Regions from separate parts of the Homo sapiens genome. Here regions 1, 2, 3, 4 and 6 are each linked to region 5. The links are contacts of gene promoters, found by promoter capture Hi-C in blood cells and fetal thymus (Javierre and others, 2016). All regions are on one chromosome and are shown on one strand. The core of a region is centred on a gene start or on the middle of the fragment in contact, and the rest is flanking DNA. Distances in the headings are between cores, read along the strand shown.

Evidence for each region. Contacts are between HindIII fragments. The CHiCAGO score rates a contact against its expected background, and 5 or more counts as called.
Region 1: a fragment that was not itself captured here is called in contact with the fragment with the promoter of PABIR1 in region 5 in 5 of 17 cell types (total B cells, erythroblasts, naive B cells and 2 more); the score reaches 10.4 in total B cells.
Region 2: a fragment that was not itself captured here is called in contact with the fragment with the promoter of PABIR1 in region 5 in 7 of 17 cell types (naive CD4 T cells, non-activated CD4 T cells, naive B cells and 4 more); the score reaches 9.1 in naive CD4 T cells.
Region 3: a contact is called between a fragment that was not itself captured here and the fragment with the promoter of PABIR1 in region 5, in 5 of 17 cell types (total B cells, erythroblasts, naive B cells and 2 more). The highest score is 9.6, in total B cells.
Region 4: a fragment that was not itself captured here is called in contact with the fragment with the promoter of PABIR1 in region 5 in 4 of 17 cell types (naive B cells, total B cells, erythroblasts and 1 more); the score reaches 14.7 in naive B cells.
Region 6: a contact is called between a fragment that was not itself captured here and the fragment with the promoter of PABIR1 in region 5, in 2 of 17 cell types (naive B cells and total B cells). The highest score is 7.9, in naive B cells.

The regions. Positions count from the first base shown.
Region 1 is chr9:68,714,154-68,716,868 of GRCh38, forward strand. The region is part of intron 1 of PIP5K1B (phosphatidylinositol-4-phosphate 5-kinase type 1 beta); the gene reads left to right. Among named protein-coding and RNA genes, the nearest start is that of PIP5K1B, 10 kb to the left of the region's middle. The HindIII fragment of the contact is 3,615 bases long and covers 1-2,715 here.
Region 2 is chr9:68,889,575-68,892,274 of GRCh38, forward strand. The region is part of intron 7 of PIP5K1B (phosphatidylinositol-4-phosphate 5-kinase type 1 beta); the gene reads left to right. Among named protein-coding and RNA genes, the nearest start is that of PABIR1, 110 kb to the left of the region's middle. The HindIII fragment of the contact is 3,450 bases long and covers 1-2,700 here.
Region 3 is chr9:68,695,938-68,698,670 of GRCh38, forward strand. No RefSeq gene overlaps it. Among named protein-coding and RNA genes, the nearest start is that of PIP5K1B, 7.9 kb to the right of the region's middle. The HindIII fragment of the contact is 4,000 bases long and covers 1-2,733 here.
Region 4 is chr9:68,678,630-68,681,510 of GRCh38, forward strand. No RefSeq gene overlaps it. Among named protein-coding and RNA genes, the nearest start is that of PIP5K1B, 25 kb to the right of the region's middle. The HindIII fragment of the contact is 3,399 bases long and covers 1-2,881 here.
Region 5 is chr9:68,778,769-68,781,468 of GRCh38, forward strand. It overlaps PABIR1 (PP2A Aalpha (PPP2R1A) and B55A (PPP2R2A) interacting phosphatase regulator 1), which reads left to right and starts at 1,297. Exons shown (of 1, transcript NM_138333.5): 1 at 1,297-2,700. The coding sequence starts at 1,397. The coding sequence ends at 2,260. All of the region lies in intron 2 of PIP5K1B (phosphatidylinositol-4-phosphate 5-kinase type 1 beta), which reads left to right. RefSeq lists silencers at 786-1,200, 1,318-1,557 and an enhancer at 1,205-2,033. The HindIII fragment of the contact is 10,001 bases long and covers 1-2,700 here.
Region 6 is chr9:68,869,571-68,872,336 of GRCh38, forward strand. The region is part of intron 5 of PIP5K1B (phosphatidylinositol-4-phosphate 5-kinase type 1 beta); the gene reads left to right. Among named protein-coding and RNA genes, the nearest start is that of PABIR1, 91 kb to the left of the region's middle. RefSeq lists an enhancer at 2,572-2,766. The HindIII fragment of the contact is 443 bases long and covers 1,127-1,569 here.

The DNA of each region.
Region 1 (2,715 bases), core at 131-2,630, 65 kb before region 5:
TGCATAATTGACATTGCGCTTGGATATCCCAAAGGCACCTCAAATTCTACATGTTCAAAACCAGAATCATGATCTGTTTTCTCCACATCTGATACTCCTGCAAGGTTCCCAGCTCTGTGGTGGGCACCGCTAGTCACCAAGTAGCACGATCAGAAACTTGGGAGCCATCCTTGGCTCCACCCTCTGCACACACCACATCTAATCCATCACCAATGTCTATTGATTTTGCTTCCTGAATATCTTTCCCATTCCATCTGCTTCTCATCATTTGTGCGGATTCTATCCTAGCCCAACTTCTTGTCTCTCTGCAGGACTGAGCCAGAACCTCTCTGGTATCCTGAGTCCACTCTGGGTCTCCTAGAATCCATTACCCATATTGTAACCAGGGCACTTGTGATGGTTGGAGGGCACCTGAGGCTCTGCTGGCCAGATCTCTGCTTCCTGTACCCTGCCAAACCCTCACGGAAGCACACAAATTCTGACCCCAGGGCTCTCCACCTCAGTGGCCTTTTGAGCTCTTGGACAGCCTCTGAGGACTTGTTTTTCCAAGTAGCTTTCTACCCTGATGTTTTTGCTCTCCTGGAGTCCAGTCAGAGGCAGGTTCATAACTACAGTCAACTACTTTTAAAGGAACAGGATGGAAACTCCAGTGTAGCTCTAGGGACTTGCCCAACCCTACCGCAAATACCAAGTTCTTAAGAGTTCTCCGGCAGTTCCCAAGGTGCACTCCACTCACTCCAACAAAGAACCAAAGACTGCTCTACTTCCACAGTTGCTTATACTCTGCCCCTGAGTTCCCCCAGGACCCTGCAATATCACATTTGTGGCCACCATAGCAGAGAAATTCACCACCTGTGGTCTAGGAATAAAATCTAAGCCTCTCCCAAAAGGCACCTGTCTCTGACTGTTGACTGTGGCTTATCCTGGCAGCTTTGAGGAAAAGGCCTGGGTTGCTTTGCATAACTGGCAGGATAGATAAAGAAACATGACTCAAAATCATTCTCTCTGTATTTCCTCATAACAGGAACCAGTTGACATGGGTGCAGGAAAAACTTCCTGACCAAGGAGTGGGGCCTGGGGCTGGGGGTGCTGGACAGAGAGAAGCACAGGGATCTGCCCCAGACTCTTCAATGGCCTCCCTTTGTGCCTGGAGTGAAGATGTGGGTCATTGACATGGTTCCAGAGCCCTGCACGGTCCTGGTCCTGCTGCCACTCCAGTCTCAGATCCACCACTCTGCCCCTTGCTGTTTCTGAGCCACACTTGCAACTGCCAGCTTCACACCCTCTGTGCAGCACTCTCGTTGCCCCCTTTGGAATGTTCTCAGCATCGGTCGACCACGCTTCAGGTCAATTCTAAGGTTACTTTTGAAAGGAGGCCTTGGCCACCCATCCCCAGTCTAGGACAGGACCAGTGGTTCCCTCTCCAGGAGGGCTTCAACAGTATGATTATTTGACTAGTTTCCTCGCCCCCACCAGCTGCTAATCATCAGGGCCCATTGCATCCCCATAGTGTCGGCACATGTAGAATTGTCTTGAGTGAATAAGTAAATGAATACCAATACTTCTACCTTAAAAAAATCCTTTTCGTAAATTCCCACTAAAGAAAGGAAATGCACAGAGATCATGAATGAACCACTTCATATTGCCGATCCTGTCCATGAACTTGATCTTCAACTTTCATTACCACTGCCTAATTTCACCTGTCATGAGCCGCATTTCTATAATGGTAGCTGCAGGTATTATCCCCAAGGAAGGTTGCCCCAAAGGCATGATATAAAATATTTCTGGAAGAATACCTGAGATACTAGTGTCTTTGTTTGCCTCTGGGGAGGTGAATTGGCTAGCTGAGGGGCATGGATGGGAGGGGAATTTTCATCCCATATTTATTTGTACCTCTGAATTTGGACCCATATGTGTGGATTACTTATTTTAAAAATTAGAATTGTAAAAGTAAAAGGAAGGAAAGCAGAGCAAGAGATGTGAAGGAATGGGAATGATTATTTAGAGGAAAGAATATGGACATGCAGTTGAAAGGGGGTTGTCCTGAAAAGAATTCCTGTCTTCAAGGATACAGCCAGTTACATCTGACTTGCTCTGCACATCTATGGAGAACTATATGGCTTCAACTTAAAAGGGATGCCATAACATATAACTTGACTTAAATAGGTTTGTCTGATCTCTCCCATCACAGAATATAACATTTATTCTAAATATAAAAGCTAATAGAACCTAATTATTTAAGAGGGAAGCAGTTGTTAAGGAAGAAGTTAGTTGGAGGCTAAAGCATTCTCCTTGAAGACATAGAAGTGCCCAAGAAACATGAAAAAATGCTTATCATCACTAATCACCAGAGAAGTGCAAATCAAAACCACAATGAGATACCATCTCATACCAGTCAGAATGGCTATGATTAGAAAGTCAAAAAATAACATAGGCTGGCAAGGTTCAGAGAAAAGGGAGCGCTTATGCACGATTGCTTGGTTTGCAAATTTGTTCAGCCACTGTGGAAAACAGTGAGAAATCTTGGAGATTTCTCAAAGAACTGAAAATAGAATTATCATTCAACCCAGCAATCCCATTACTGGATATATACCCAAAGGAAAATAAATTGTTTTATCAGAAAGACACCTGCACTCACACGTTCATTGCAGCGCTATTCATAATAGCAAAGACAAGGAATCAACCTAGGTGACCATCAATGATGGATTGGATGAA
Region 2 (2,700 bases), core at 146-2,645, 110 kb after region 5:
ATACAAAAAAATTAGCCAGGCGTGGTGGTGGGCGCCTGTAGTCCTAGCTACTCAGGAGGCTGAGGCAGGAGAATGGCATGAACCCGGGAGGCGGAGCTTGCAGTGAATCGAGATCCCGCCACTGCACTCCAGCCTGGGCGACAGAGCGAGACTCCTTCTCAAAAAAAAAAAAAAAAAAAAGCTGGGAAATACTTATCTTACATAGTTGTTGTGATAAAGTAAGGATACAGGATATAAAATAAAGGAAAGATAAAGGAAGCAATGTGTTTCAAAGCTCTTTGCAGCCAGTACGCAGTAATAGTATAAATGGTTAACTTTCATGGATTGCTTACTACATGTTAAGCAAGGCCTTAAGTGCTTTGCATTCATTAACTCATTTAATCCTCACAGCAACCTTGGATACTACAATTATCACCTTTTTATAGAAGAGGTAATTGAGGCAAAGATAAATTAAGTAACTTGCCATGGGTGATTCAGCTGGAGAGCTGCAGAGCTGGGGCTACGCAAGCAAAAGGGCTCCAGAGAATGCATTTTTAACCCCTACACTAATACACCGGAACATATTCTATATTAGCTGTTCTCAGCTACTAGACTTCAGAATTTAGAATTTCATGGGTAAATGTGATAGTGTGAAAAATCACCTTTCATGTAATATTTTAGAGACAAAGGAACAGTAACTTAGCCTAGACGGATTTACTACACGTTTACTCCAAAATTTTCAAAACTATCCCCACTGTTCCTAAATAGTCCAGGCATTTTCATACCTCCAGTTTCATTGTACTTTGATAACAGTTCTTAATTTTCTATGATTGGAAGGGCTACATGAAGCTGTCTGGATTTCAGAAGCCCAAGTTCTGCCAATCACTTGCTATGAGTGGTGATAAATATCATCTTTGTTTTTAAAAATGCATTCATCAGATGCCATGTTATCTTTTTATGTAAAAATATTATTTTAATTCCAAAATCTGCTAGACACAGCATTAAATACTTAAATTAATCTCATATAGAAGTATAAAAATAAAAAATCTCAATAAAAATCTTAGTGGCATGCAGGCAGATTTTAAAATATTTCAATACTGAGCAATTATTTTTTTTTGGAGGAACAGAAAATATAGAAAAGCCAAAAAAAAAAAAACTAACTATAGTTTCTTTCCCAGAGATACATATTACTAAAATATGGTGTATATGCTTTCAGTTATTCTTTGTTCATGCACACATTTTAAAATTATCTAAAATTAGGATCAAATTGATATAATATTATTTGATAACCTGCTTAATTAGTAAATCTTAAAATTCCATAGTTCTGAGCTCAGATATACTTGTCCTCTTGTAAAACTGCATTGGCCATATTTGACTACTTATATTTAATTAAAATTAGATAAAAAGTTAAGGGCCAGGAATGGTGGCTCACACCTGTAATCCCAGCACTTTGGGAGGCCAAGGTGGGTGGATCACTTGAGCCCAGGTGTTCAAGTCCAGCCTGGGCAACATGGTGAAACCCCATCTCTACAAAAAAATAAAAAATTATCCAGGCATGGTGGCACGCACCTGTGGTCCCAGCTACTTGGGAGGCTGAGAAGTGGGAGGATCACTTGAGCCTGGAAGGTTGAGGCTGCAGTGAACTATGATCAAGCCACTGTACTCCAGCCTGGGAGACAGAGCAAAACCCTGTATCAAAGAAAAATTAAATTTAGCTGAACAAGTGATTTTATCCCAATTATGTAAGCTAGTATAACAATATAATCCACCCCATTAACAAGAAAAAATGTGAACGTCACGTGGTTACCCAAATAGATGTTGAGGAGAAGCTAAGGCCCTCAAAATTCAACATCTTCACTTAATTAAAATTCTAAAAATTGGCAGGGGAGTTTTTTTTTTTTTAAAAAATGATAAATAAATCAATGATTATACAAGTTGTACATTTATCAGTCTTCCAAAAGTTCACATGATAGCTCATGGAAAAATACAAGAATCCTTTCTCTAGAAACAATAGGAATAGACCAGAGTGCCCCTCCCATCAATAGTCCTTTCTGATAAATTTGCTAGAAATTCTGGCACTGAGTCTTGAGTACAAAAAGAAATAGAAAAAAGTACAAGCACTGTTCTCTTTAAATGACAGAATTCAAAATGAGCAAACCTTCATTTTGCTCATGAAAGTAAATCAGGAATTTTTAGAAGTGATATGACTCCAGCAGATTTGCAGGATAAAAGGTAAATCTACAAAATCCATTATATTCCATTATATAGATGATATAGAGTGGGAGAATATAAGGGAAAAAAGAGATCCTGTTCATGATGACAACAACTTATAATGAACCCTATTAGAAAAATAAGTAAATAAAGTCATGTGAGTACTGTAATTCTGATTGGGAAAGCAAGATATAGTAAGTGGAAAACATAAACAATCAGTTCAGAAAGAATGTAATAAGAAAAATTCTAAAATACTTGAATCTATAAAAACAAATGTTACAAGACCAATATGAAGGAAACTACAAAACGTTATTGAAGGACATAAAGAAGATCTGAAATAATGAAGAAATCTGCATTGTTCCTGAACTCAGTATTGTAAAGATTTCAACTGCTCCCAAATCAACTTATAAATCCAGTCTAATTCCAAGCAAAAATTCTAATAGGATTTTTCACATAGCTTGACAAAGCCAATTTCTTTGAAAGTGAGAGCAAGTCTCATTTGAAGAATGT
Region 3 (2,733 bases), core at 99-2,598, 83 kb before region 5:
TAATTAAACAACATGTAGCCTTTTGTGTCTGGTTTATTTCAGTTAGCATAACATTTTCAAGGTTCATCCACATTGTAGCATGTACTGATACTTCATTCCTTTTTATTGCTGGATAATATCTCATTGTATGAATATACAACATTTTCTTTATCCACTTATCAGTTAATGGATATTTAAGTTGTTTCCACTTTTTGGCTATTGTGAACAATGCTGCTATGAACATTTGTGTACAAGTTTTTGTGTAGATGTATGTTTTCATTTCTCTTGGATAGATATGTAGGAGTGGAATTGCTGGGTTGTATCTTAACTCTACATTTAAACTGTTGAGGAACTGCCAGAATTTTTTCAAAAGTGGTTGCTTCTTTTTCAATTCTCACCAGCAATGGAGGAGAGTTCCAATTTTTCTGCCTCTTCACCAACACTTATTATTATCTCTCTTTCTGATTCTAGCCATCCTAGTAGATATAAAGTGTTGTATAGTAGATGTCTTTGTAGTTTTAATTTGCATTTCCCTAATGACTAATAAAGTTGAGTATATTTTCAAATGCTTATTGGTCATTTGTATATCTTCTTTGAGAAATGTCTATTTAGATCCTTTGCCCTGTGAACATTATTTTAATCTAGAAAAACTGTAAGATATTTGACAGCATGGTAAGCAAATAACAAATGTTGGACCTGGCAGTCTCTGGGTGAAGAAAATGAAGAGTGATTTCTTTTTTGTTTTTCTAAATTTTCCTAAGTTTTAAAAACAAACATAATTTTTTGTCATCTTCAAATATTTACATTTTTCCTCAATTTCTTTATCTTTTTCTGATTTGAAAAATTAGCACAAGAAAGTTTTGTTAAAGAAGATACAATATTAACCTAGAGGCAACAATAGCTAACATTTCGGAAGATTTCTTTTCAGGACTTTTCTCAACTTTGCGTACTTTTTTGAGGTTGTAGTATATGTACATGTTCAATTTATGCCTTTTATTCTTATCAGGATATCACAGACAAACTCTTGCATATTAAATAAACCTCTTATTTAATTTTTTCATCTGAAAGTCTGTAGAGGAAATGCCACCATATCGCTTGGCATGCAGAATGGTCACAAAGAAGGGCTTCTTTCATACATTCATTACTCCAAAATTAAGAAAAAACTACACAAACATGCAACACCTACTGTTCCCAACCTATGGGCAACACAAACCTAGGACACAGCAGACTTTTAAGAGGTCATCGCCTAGTCCTTTGCTGTAGTCTGATGTTCTCTGCCTGCTTCACACTGGAAAAGACAGACAGTTTTAAGTAGTATGAAGATGCTGGGCAACTCTCCAATACTTTCTAACTTGTATCTTCACAGAATAGCTTTGCCTTTTGGGTTAAATTATTTGTAATCTCCAAAGCACTGCCAACTCCCATATTTTTCCTTAAAATATGTGCTATAAAAAGCTGTATTCCTCTTGCTTTCCCCATCCTGTTTCTCTTTCCCTCATTACAATTATTATTCCTGAAATCACCCATGCCATCAGGACAAGCTGACTGCAGGTAGAGGGATGAGTTATGTTTCTCTTCACTTTTTTTCCTATCCCAAAGGCTCCAAAGTTTCTGGTTGCAACAACTTTAAAAGCTGATTGCACAGATTCCATTTTCTCCTATGGTAATGAAATTAAATAGTCTCTCATCCTGGCAAGAGCTCCAGAAGAATACTTCTTTTACACTTGCTTTAAATGTTCAATTTTCTGTACCAATATAGGCTGCTGACTCTTTAAGCTCCCATGTATGTCCACAAACACTTCAAGACAGCAGTACCATCCAAAACCACACACATACAACAGGCTGCTTCCAATGTGAAAATCCGGGGGAAATACCAGGATATAGCACAGAAGAAGAATCCTGACTACTAAAGACTCTCCCTCATAAGCCTCCAGTCATAGCTGTGCAAGATTAAATGTAAGATGAATGGCTCGTGTTTAATTCAGTGCATGGGGCTGAGAATATAGTGCTCCCCAGTGTCCAGGCTCTTCTCTTCTTCCCAGGCACAGCGCTTACATGGAGTTTTCCAGACCCCTTGCAAGTAGGTGGGGCTGTGGGATCAATTTCTGGCCAGTGGAATGTGAGTGGACGTGATGATTGCCACTCCTCCACCTGGCATTCTAAATCTTTCATTCTGTCTTGCAGTTCAGGAAGGATTTCAGAGGCCACTTGTTGAAGATAATGGCGCCATGAGACAGGAGGAGCCAGGGTCTCTGGCTGATTGCACAAAACCAGCCCCACCACCAAATCACACTGAATGTTGACATGAACAAGAAATGAATCTTTATTATACTAATCCACTGAGGCTTGCGGGTTGTATGTGAAATCCGTTTGCATACCCTGATTAACACAGCTCCTTTTGCTTTTCTCCCATCCCAGCCAAATATTTTAGGTTGCTGTGACAGCTTGCTGACAACATCTTATAAGGGGTGTCAGAACAGGAAGCTCCATTTTGCTAGCAAAACATTCAAATTCAAATATTGTCAGGAGGAGACAGTCTTGCTAGTAAGGTTCCACCTAAATGGTTCCAAGTCAGGAGAGTCACTAAATGTTTTGAGAAATAAAAGTGAAAATCAATGTGTCTTCCCAGTGTATTCACATGGCACAGTGTCACAGAGGGCTTGAGCGTCTGAGCGTGGACTTCACTGGTTGACTAACGTTAACATGCATGTCTGTTCAACAAGTGTTTGTGGTGTCATCAGTGTCACACATGCT
Region 4 (2,881 bases), core at 138-2,637, 100 kb before region 5:
CATACAACCTGCTGCTGTGATTTCTCCTTGGGTGCAGCCTACTTCCCAGCCCCTGATTGGTGGACAGACCCCCTTATTTATGGGCAATTTTTCTGTACGGACAAGATAGCACAAGAAGCCCGTCTGGCAGCTGCTCATGGAAACTCTTGCTGTGTCTTCATTTTCATATCAGTAAGCACGCTGTAGGAGACGAAGAGCAGACTGAGGACTATGGCATTATCCTATGCACAGTCAATCAAGACCAGGCTAATTAGATTTTTCAGGTGCTTGGACTCTGTGGGACCACATATTACACAAATACATAGATAAACATTCCCATCCACGAGGACCAAAGAATTGTTGAAGATGGCTGCAAAATAAGTCTCTAGCAAAGGCTTCATTCAATTATCTGGCTTATGCATTCTTTCCCTCTCTTTTAGGAAACATAATGAAACCTCAATACAATTGAAGTGCTTGGACTTGTGTATTATTAATGAGTTTCACCCGGTATAGCAGTGTTCCCCCCAAAATGAAAATCTGAAAACATACATACCTGAGGTTAGATAAAATCAAATATATAAATACTAGTACATTTTGGAAAATATTTAAGAATAGTTTGCTGCGAGGGATAATGATTGCTATGCATATCTATGTTCATGCCATCCCTCAACTACATTTAATCTCTCTAACTTTGTTTTTATTTTTATTTATTTACTTATTTTGAGATGGAGTCTCACTCTTTCACCCAGGCTAGAGTGCAATGGCATGATCTCAGCTCGCTACAACAGCCACCTCCTGAGTTCAAGCAATTCTTCTGCCTCAGCCTCCTAAGCAGCTGGGATTACAGGTGCCCGCCCCCACACCTGGCTAGTTTTTGTATTTTTAGTAGAGACGGGGGTTTCACCATGTTGGCCAGGCTGGTCTCGAACTTCTGACCTCAGGTGATCCACCCACCTCAGCCTCCCAAAGTGCTGGGATTACTGGTGTGAGCCACTGCACCCAGCCATGACTTTATATTAGAAACAAAATTATGTTCTTCATTCATTAAAGCTAGAGCCTACTCTGGCTACTGAGAAGCCATTGGTCTGATGATGAGCATATGGCTCACACATAGGCAATCCTGCTTCCAATGGCCTTAGCATACCCCTGAAGGCTACACCGATATCTGTGTATCTAGGAGCATTATGGTTTCATGATTCTTTCACTTTGAAGATGGACACCTGGGTACTTCATCAGCATGTCATCTTATGCCTTGCATGGATTTTCCTCAGGGACCTGTCCTTAGTCCTTTCCTCCTCCTCTTTCACTTAACATTCATGTGTTGATTTCCTGTACTTTATCTCCAACTCAGAGTTCTTTTTTTTCCTCTCTGAATTTTGAATAGATTCTATGGGATAACTCCACTAGCATACCAGTGCTACAATCTCAATAGTTTCCAAATACGAAGTCATTCTCTTACCCCTCTGGCCTTTGTCTCTCATATTCCATATCTATATGAATGGCTCTGTCATTCTACCAGTCTGGGAACCAAACTTAACCCTTCCCGCTTTTTTATCTTTATCTTTATGTTCAATTAGTCACTTTGCTGTTTAATTCTTCCCCACTAACTTTTCTCACATCCCCTAATGTTCATTCTCCACTGTAGAGATCTCTAGCTAGAATTCCATTATCTCTCACCTAGATAGATGACTGAACAGCTCTCTTGTCTCCCTGCTTCTCACTCCCAGAGTGATTTTTTAAAAGACATGTTACTGCCTTGTCTAAAATCCTTCACAACTGGGGAGTTTATCCTCATCTTTTAGGATAAAGCCAAAGGTTCTTAGCATGGCAAAAAATGCCCTTCATCTTCTGTCTCTTGTTTACCTATTTGGCAAAATCAAGCTACGTCATAGCTCAGAAAAGTCAATAATCTTTTTGTTTTCTGGAAATGTAGGTGCCTGTCTCTTCTTCACTTGGAAGGCACTATCACTATCACCACCTCCAAGACATTTGCTGTCGCCCTACCACACTGGGTTTGGTGTTTTTCTCTGTGCTCTCATAATCCTTGAGTCTTCCTGTTCCATGGTTTCTGTCACAATGCGTGTTCTTATTTGAGTCCCCTGCACTTACACTAAACCCCTGAACACACTTGCTCATATCAGAAATAGACACTAGCCTTCTTTGTGTTGACCACATCTTAGCATGATACTTATTCATAAAAGGCACTCAAGAAATGCCTGTTAAATGAGTGGATTTTGCAGAAGAGAATCATGGACAGATGCTCCTTGACTTATGACAGGTTTATGTCTCAATAAACATATCATAAATTGAAAATACTGTAAGTGAAAACACACATGACTTATGACATTTTCAATTTGCAATGTATTTCTCTGGACATAACCTCATAAGTTGAGCAGTGTATTATTTAATGGGTATTGCTTTCACACCAGCCTAAAATCAAAAAATTGTAAGTAGATCCATCATAAGTCAGGGGTTGTCTATATTAGATAGATGATTGGAATTGATGGCTAGAAATTTCAAGAAATTATGCATATAAAATTCACTGGGAAGATTCTGTTCTATTGTTTAAGGTATCATTCTCATACTCTCAAGTCCTAGTTTCTTATCCCTCAAACAATAAATGCTCAGTGAATAGTTCAATGAACTATGTAGCACACTGAGAAGGCATAGAATGTAAAATTGTCTACAGCACTCTCTCCACCCTCAAGAATCTCACAGCCCAGGTTAGAGACATGAATAATAACAAATAATTATATTACAATGAGACAATAGCTAAGTAATACAGTTAATATGGGAAACCAAAGAAGGAATCCTTATTTTTTAGGGAAAGAAATGAGGAAGAGGTCATATTTGAATCTTGAAGACTAGGTTGGAGTTTACTGGGATAAGGGATTTGGGTCCC
Region 5 (2,700 bases), core at 47-2,546:
ATCCAACTCTTACCCTCTCCTAACACTCCCGCTCTTATGCTTCAGCGGCACTGCCCTTTTTTCTTTTTCTGCTAACTCATCAAACTCATGGCTGCCTCCGGCCTTAGCACTTGCTATTCTCTCTGCTTGGAATACTCATTCCCCAGATGTCCACGTGACTTACTGCTTCTTGTCATTTAGATCTCAACTCTAATTGTCCCCTGACTTCTATCAGTAGTGCTCCATCACACCATCTTACTTTTCCTAAGGCTTACCACTATCTGAAAATAGCCTGCGTTTCTCTATTTTCCCCTCAGTAAGAATTAAAAGTTCATACTAGGGCCCATTTCCTAGCAGTGTTTGGCACATAGTAAGTATGCTGAAAAAAAAAAACCTTGACTGACTGAATAAATGAACAAATAAACTCACTTTTAATGAGATATCAAGGTTTTATATTAATTACATGAGCCAAGAATTGTGGTTTCATTTTTAAAATGTGAGGACCTACTGGTTTAATCCTTCATACTTCACACATATGCTTGTGCTGGAACTATGACTGTAAATCAATAGCAATACCATCCTCTGTTTTGGCTTCTTCCCCTAACCTAAATAGTTCTCAGATTTACTTTTCTCTCCATCTCCACTGCCACACTGTCACCTTAGTGCAAATGACCATCCTCTCTGGCCTTTTTTCTGTAAGGTTTTAATCTCCCAATATGTATTCTCCAGACTGCAGGCCAGTGAGCTTTTCAGTTGCTGTTACACCCATGCTTGAAAACCCTTTAAGTTTTCATTGTTCTCAAGATAAAGACCAGAATGTGGTCTGGTCCACCACCTCACGTCAGGCCAGCCCTCACTCTCCACTCCAGGCCACACTTTCTCCTCCCCTCCTGGTTCCCGCCTGCCAACTGGCTGGGTAGCCGTTGCTTCCCGCTTCCTGCAAAGTTCTACATCGCACCCATTTCGCCCACTTCTTCAGATTTCAGGAGATTGTTCCTTCCTCGAGGAAGCCCTCCCTGATTAGGCCAAGCGCCACTCCACGTCATACAGCCCCACATCACCATGGGCCTCTCTTTCAGGGCTTTGTTTTATGAGTATGCAATCCAGAATATGACAATCTTATTGACATGCGTCAACGCGAGCTTGCGCTCAATAGCTATTTGCCGAAGGAATATACGGACTAGCGGCCCGACCACTCCTCGCCCCTCCCCTACCACTGCCGCGCACATATTACGCATTAAGCAGGCGCCGCGAGTACGGACATCGCGAGCGCCTGCGCGAAGGGCTACGCATGCGCAGAGGGGCCAGCCCGCTGACAGATTCTCGGTGGCGGCGGCAGCGGCGGCGGCCCTGGACTGCGGGGAATGGGAATCCTAGGTCCCTGACTGAGCACCTCCCCCGCCTCCCTGCCCCCGACATGGCTCAGGAGAAGATGGAGCTAGACCTGGAGCTGCCTCCGGGTACGGGCGGGAGCCCGGCGGAGGGCGGTGGCAGCGGCGGCGGCGGGGGCCTCAGGAGGTCTAACAGCGCCCCCCTGATCCACGGCCTCAGTGACACTTCGCCGGTGTTCCAGGCCGAGGCGCCGAGCGCCAGGCGGAACAGCACAACGTTCCCGAGCCGCCACGGCCTGCTGCTGCCGGCCTCCCCTGTCCGCATGCACAGCAGCCGCTTGCACCAGATCAAACAAGAAGAGGGCATGGACTTGATCAACCGAGAGACGGTCCACGAACGGGAGGTGCAGACCGCAATGCAGATAAGCCACTCCTGGGAGGAAAGTTTCAGCCTGAGTGACAACGACGTGGAGAAATCCGCCTCCCCCAAGCGCATCGATTTCATTCCTGTGTCACCAGCACCGTCACCCACTCGGGGAATTGGGAAGCAGTGTTTTTCGCCATCCTTGCAAAGTTTTGTAAGTAGCAACGGATTGCCTCCAAGCCCTATTCCCAGCCCAACGACCCGATTTACCACCCGGAGAAGCCAGAGCCCCATCAATTGCATTAGACCAAGTGTTCTTGGACCATTGAAAAGAAAATGTGAAATGGAAACTGAATATCAGCCAAAGAGATTTTTCCAGGGCATCACCAACATGCTTTCTTCTGACGTTGCACAGCTGTCAGATCCTGGTGTGTGTGTATCTTCGGATACCCTTGATGGAAACAGCAGCAGTGCCGGATCTTCTTGTAACTCACCAGCGAAAGTCAGCACTACCACCGACTCTCCTGTGTCACCTGCCCAAGCGGCTTCTCCATTTATTCCACTAGATGAACTTTCGTCTAAGTGATTCACTCATCCTGAGACTTTCTTTTTGCAGTGGAGAGAGAGAATAATCTAGTTGGGGCAAACACTGAACTTTGTCAATTAATTTGAGGCTATTTCCTATTTGACCCCTTTTCTTTTTTGAAATTCCCTGAAATGATGTTATTCTAGAGAACTTCTATGTCAGGTTCCTTTGGATACCCTTGAATTCAGTGTAGTAATATTTTCAGACGTTTCCCCAATAAGTGTGTTGAAGCATACATCTTTACGCTGCTAATATGTCTAAATACATATGTTATCCCTTGATTTTTTTAAATAACTGAGAGCTCTATTTATTTATGGGATTATTAAGTTCTGATGAAAATATAAATGTTGACTTAATCAGCATAGTAAACTGATGTTTAAAATTCCATACTTCATGCCCACACTAATTTTTAATGTTATTTTCAGTGGTTGCCGATTTCC
Region 6 (2,766 bases), core at 98-2,597, 91 kb after region 5:
ATTCATTTACAAATTGTCTGCGGCTGCTATCTACAATGGCTGCAGAGTTGAGTAATTGCTACAGAGACTGTATGGCCCACAGAGCTCGAAATATTATCTGGCCCTTTATAGAAAAAGATTGCCAAGGCTGGCTGCAGTGGCTCACGCCCGTAATCCCAGCACTTTGGGAGGCCGAGGTGGGAAGATCACATGAGCTCAAGAGTTTGAAAGCAGCCTGGGCAATATAGTGAGACCTCATCTCTTTATATTTAATAAAAATAAAAATAAATAAAAAAGAAAAAGATTACCAACTCCTGATCTATACAAACATTCTGCACCAGTTTTTATGTACATGTGGGTAGAAGACAAAGCTGCCAGCTTAGTCTTCTTGGGAGAAAATGAGAAGTGACTGCTGCTGGGCAAGCCATAATATGATGCTCCTTCAAATCAAAACTCTTTATGTCTTTGTTCAGCGTGTATTTGGTGAGGATGGGGAGAAACTGATTTCCTATTACTAAAAGCCATATACCTCTTCCTTTAGCTCAAAGGATTTATTGCATGCACTGGATATTATACAATATTCTACTTTATTTGAAGTTATCTTCAAGCACGGTTTTCCAGTATGGTAATAACTTCTTGGATGGTTTAATGTTTATATAACCGATGATGTCACATGTTCCCAGTAAATGACATCCCGGAATGCACTGTTTGGTTGGGGAATTTAAGCTGTCTTCAGATGCTGACTTTTACAGATTGGCTGTCAGCTGGTTGGTCTCTGAAGATGGTGCAGCCTCGTCTTATACAATGCAGTTCATGTGTACCCATCACAGAACTGCTCAGCAACAGGAGGTTGGCACCAGCAAGGAATGTGTCTTTTGTTTTGCTTTGTTTTGTTTTTCCATTCATGAGCACTCTCTAATTTGGCAAAAAAGAGGACCAATTTCTGTCTCTCTCTCTCTAGTTACGTAAAGAATTGTATGTGGAAACCAAGGGATATCCACCTTGGCTGAATTGGCAGAGGCAATTAATAATACCTTAAGGCCGCTTTTACAGACTGCTGTGTACGAAGGTCCAACTTGAAGACTGGGTACCATCAGTAGTTTGTTACTGGATTGTAGTGGCATTCACCCAACTGTAGTGCCACTTAAGCTTTCCTAATGTCTGCACATCAAGACAAAGCACCCTTCATTTATCCTGTCATACAGAGGGTAAGGTCATGTTTGTTGAATACAAGTGAGGGCATTTAGCATCCTTTAGCGACACTGACCACTATCACCCAGGAGTTGCGTAAGTACTAGTTTTGTCAAAAGTCCTCAGAGCCACTATTGATGGTTTGGTTACAATTTGAAATAAACAAAGCTCACTAAATGGAAAATGCTGCTCTAGAGGCAAGAAAGCTCTGAGTCTCAGCTCCAAAACTGGTCCCCTTGTGTTGTCTTTGAGATGCTAAATTAGTTTTACCCCATTGCTTACCACCACATCTCTCAGTCCAGTGCCACCAAAACTAGCACTTGGTCATCAGGCTCTAAAACCCCATAAACAAAGCTGTGTTGTTATTAGTACATAGAGAGGAGAACACCAACTGACCAAAGCTTCTGTAAGTGAAATTCTACCCACCAGCCCCTGTGGTGTGAAGGCCTCATGTGGAAGTAATTGGGATATTTGGGCAGGGAGAAACCCCTGAAACTTGTAACAGAATCCTGAAAAGGAGGAATAACAGAGGAACGTCAAGTCTAAGTTAAGCCATTCCTATCTGCTTATGACTTTTCTGCTGTTCTGATGTGAGTCTAATCTCCCAATCTTGTTTGTTCCTGATCAGTTTGGGCCATTGTTTTCCCTCCCTGGACTATGATTTATCTGCTAAATGGGGAATTCCAGATGGCGGCTAATGCTTCCTCAAGCTTCAACATTGTGTAATTCTGAACATACGTTGCCATTAAGATATATGTATTTTTAGACTAAGACAAGCAGTAGCTTTGGCCTTAAAAATGAACTTGCCTCAGAAGAGGTGAATATCAGAATGCCAGAGCTGGTCTGTGATTGAACTTTAACTGCTTCTTAGTGAATAAGTGGGGAAGAGGACAGAGAAACTTCTGTTCTTTATTTGAAATTTCTTTCTCCTTTTTTGGAGCTAAAAATGCCCTGATGTGATAGGGATTGTAACGTGTGCTTGCTTAATTGTTTAGGTTCTTACTTGGCAAAATAAATTTGGAAATCCAAGGTTGGATTCCAAACTTTTGTTGTCGAAATTTTACTGGCCCATGGGATCCAAGCATCTAGAACCACTGCTCAAAACCCCATAGCTGAGATTTCCAAAGCTTCAACTTACGCCAAGACAAGAAAGTCAGTTGTCGGGTGTTTTTTTTTTTTTTCCACACCCTACATAAGTGCATTGAAGAAATATAAGGTAAATCTTAAACTGTGAGGAGTTCTACTCTTTTTCTGACTTCATTTTTGCTAAGTCTGGATGCTGAGCACAGTTACTCAACAGGTAACTCCAGTCTCAAGCAAGGAAAGCCTGTGGACTTCAGGAGGCAAACGTTGATTGCGGTCATTGTGTTTGAATGTTGGCAGTTCTGCCATGGTGGAAGTTGCTAAGCACTTGGTACCTGTGCTGTGGAGATTCTGTGCTGAACGCCTGTGGGCTGGCACCCACATCTACACACAGTAAATGTGCCAGCGTGGGGCCTCAGAGAACCAAGGTTGTTGCCTGCTGGCTGACCTTCACTGGACTTGCTGTTTTGTTCTCTGCACTCGTGCTCCCCTGACAAATATCCGGGCCCAGCA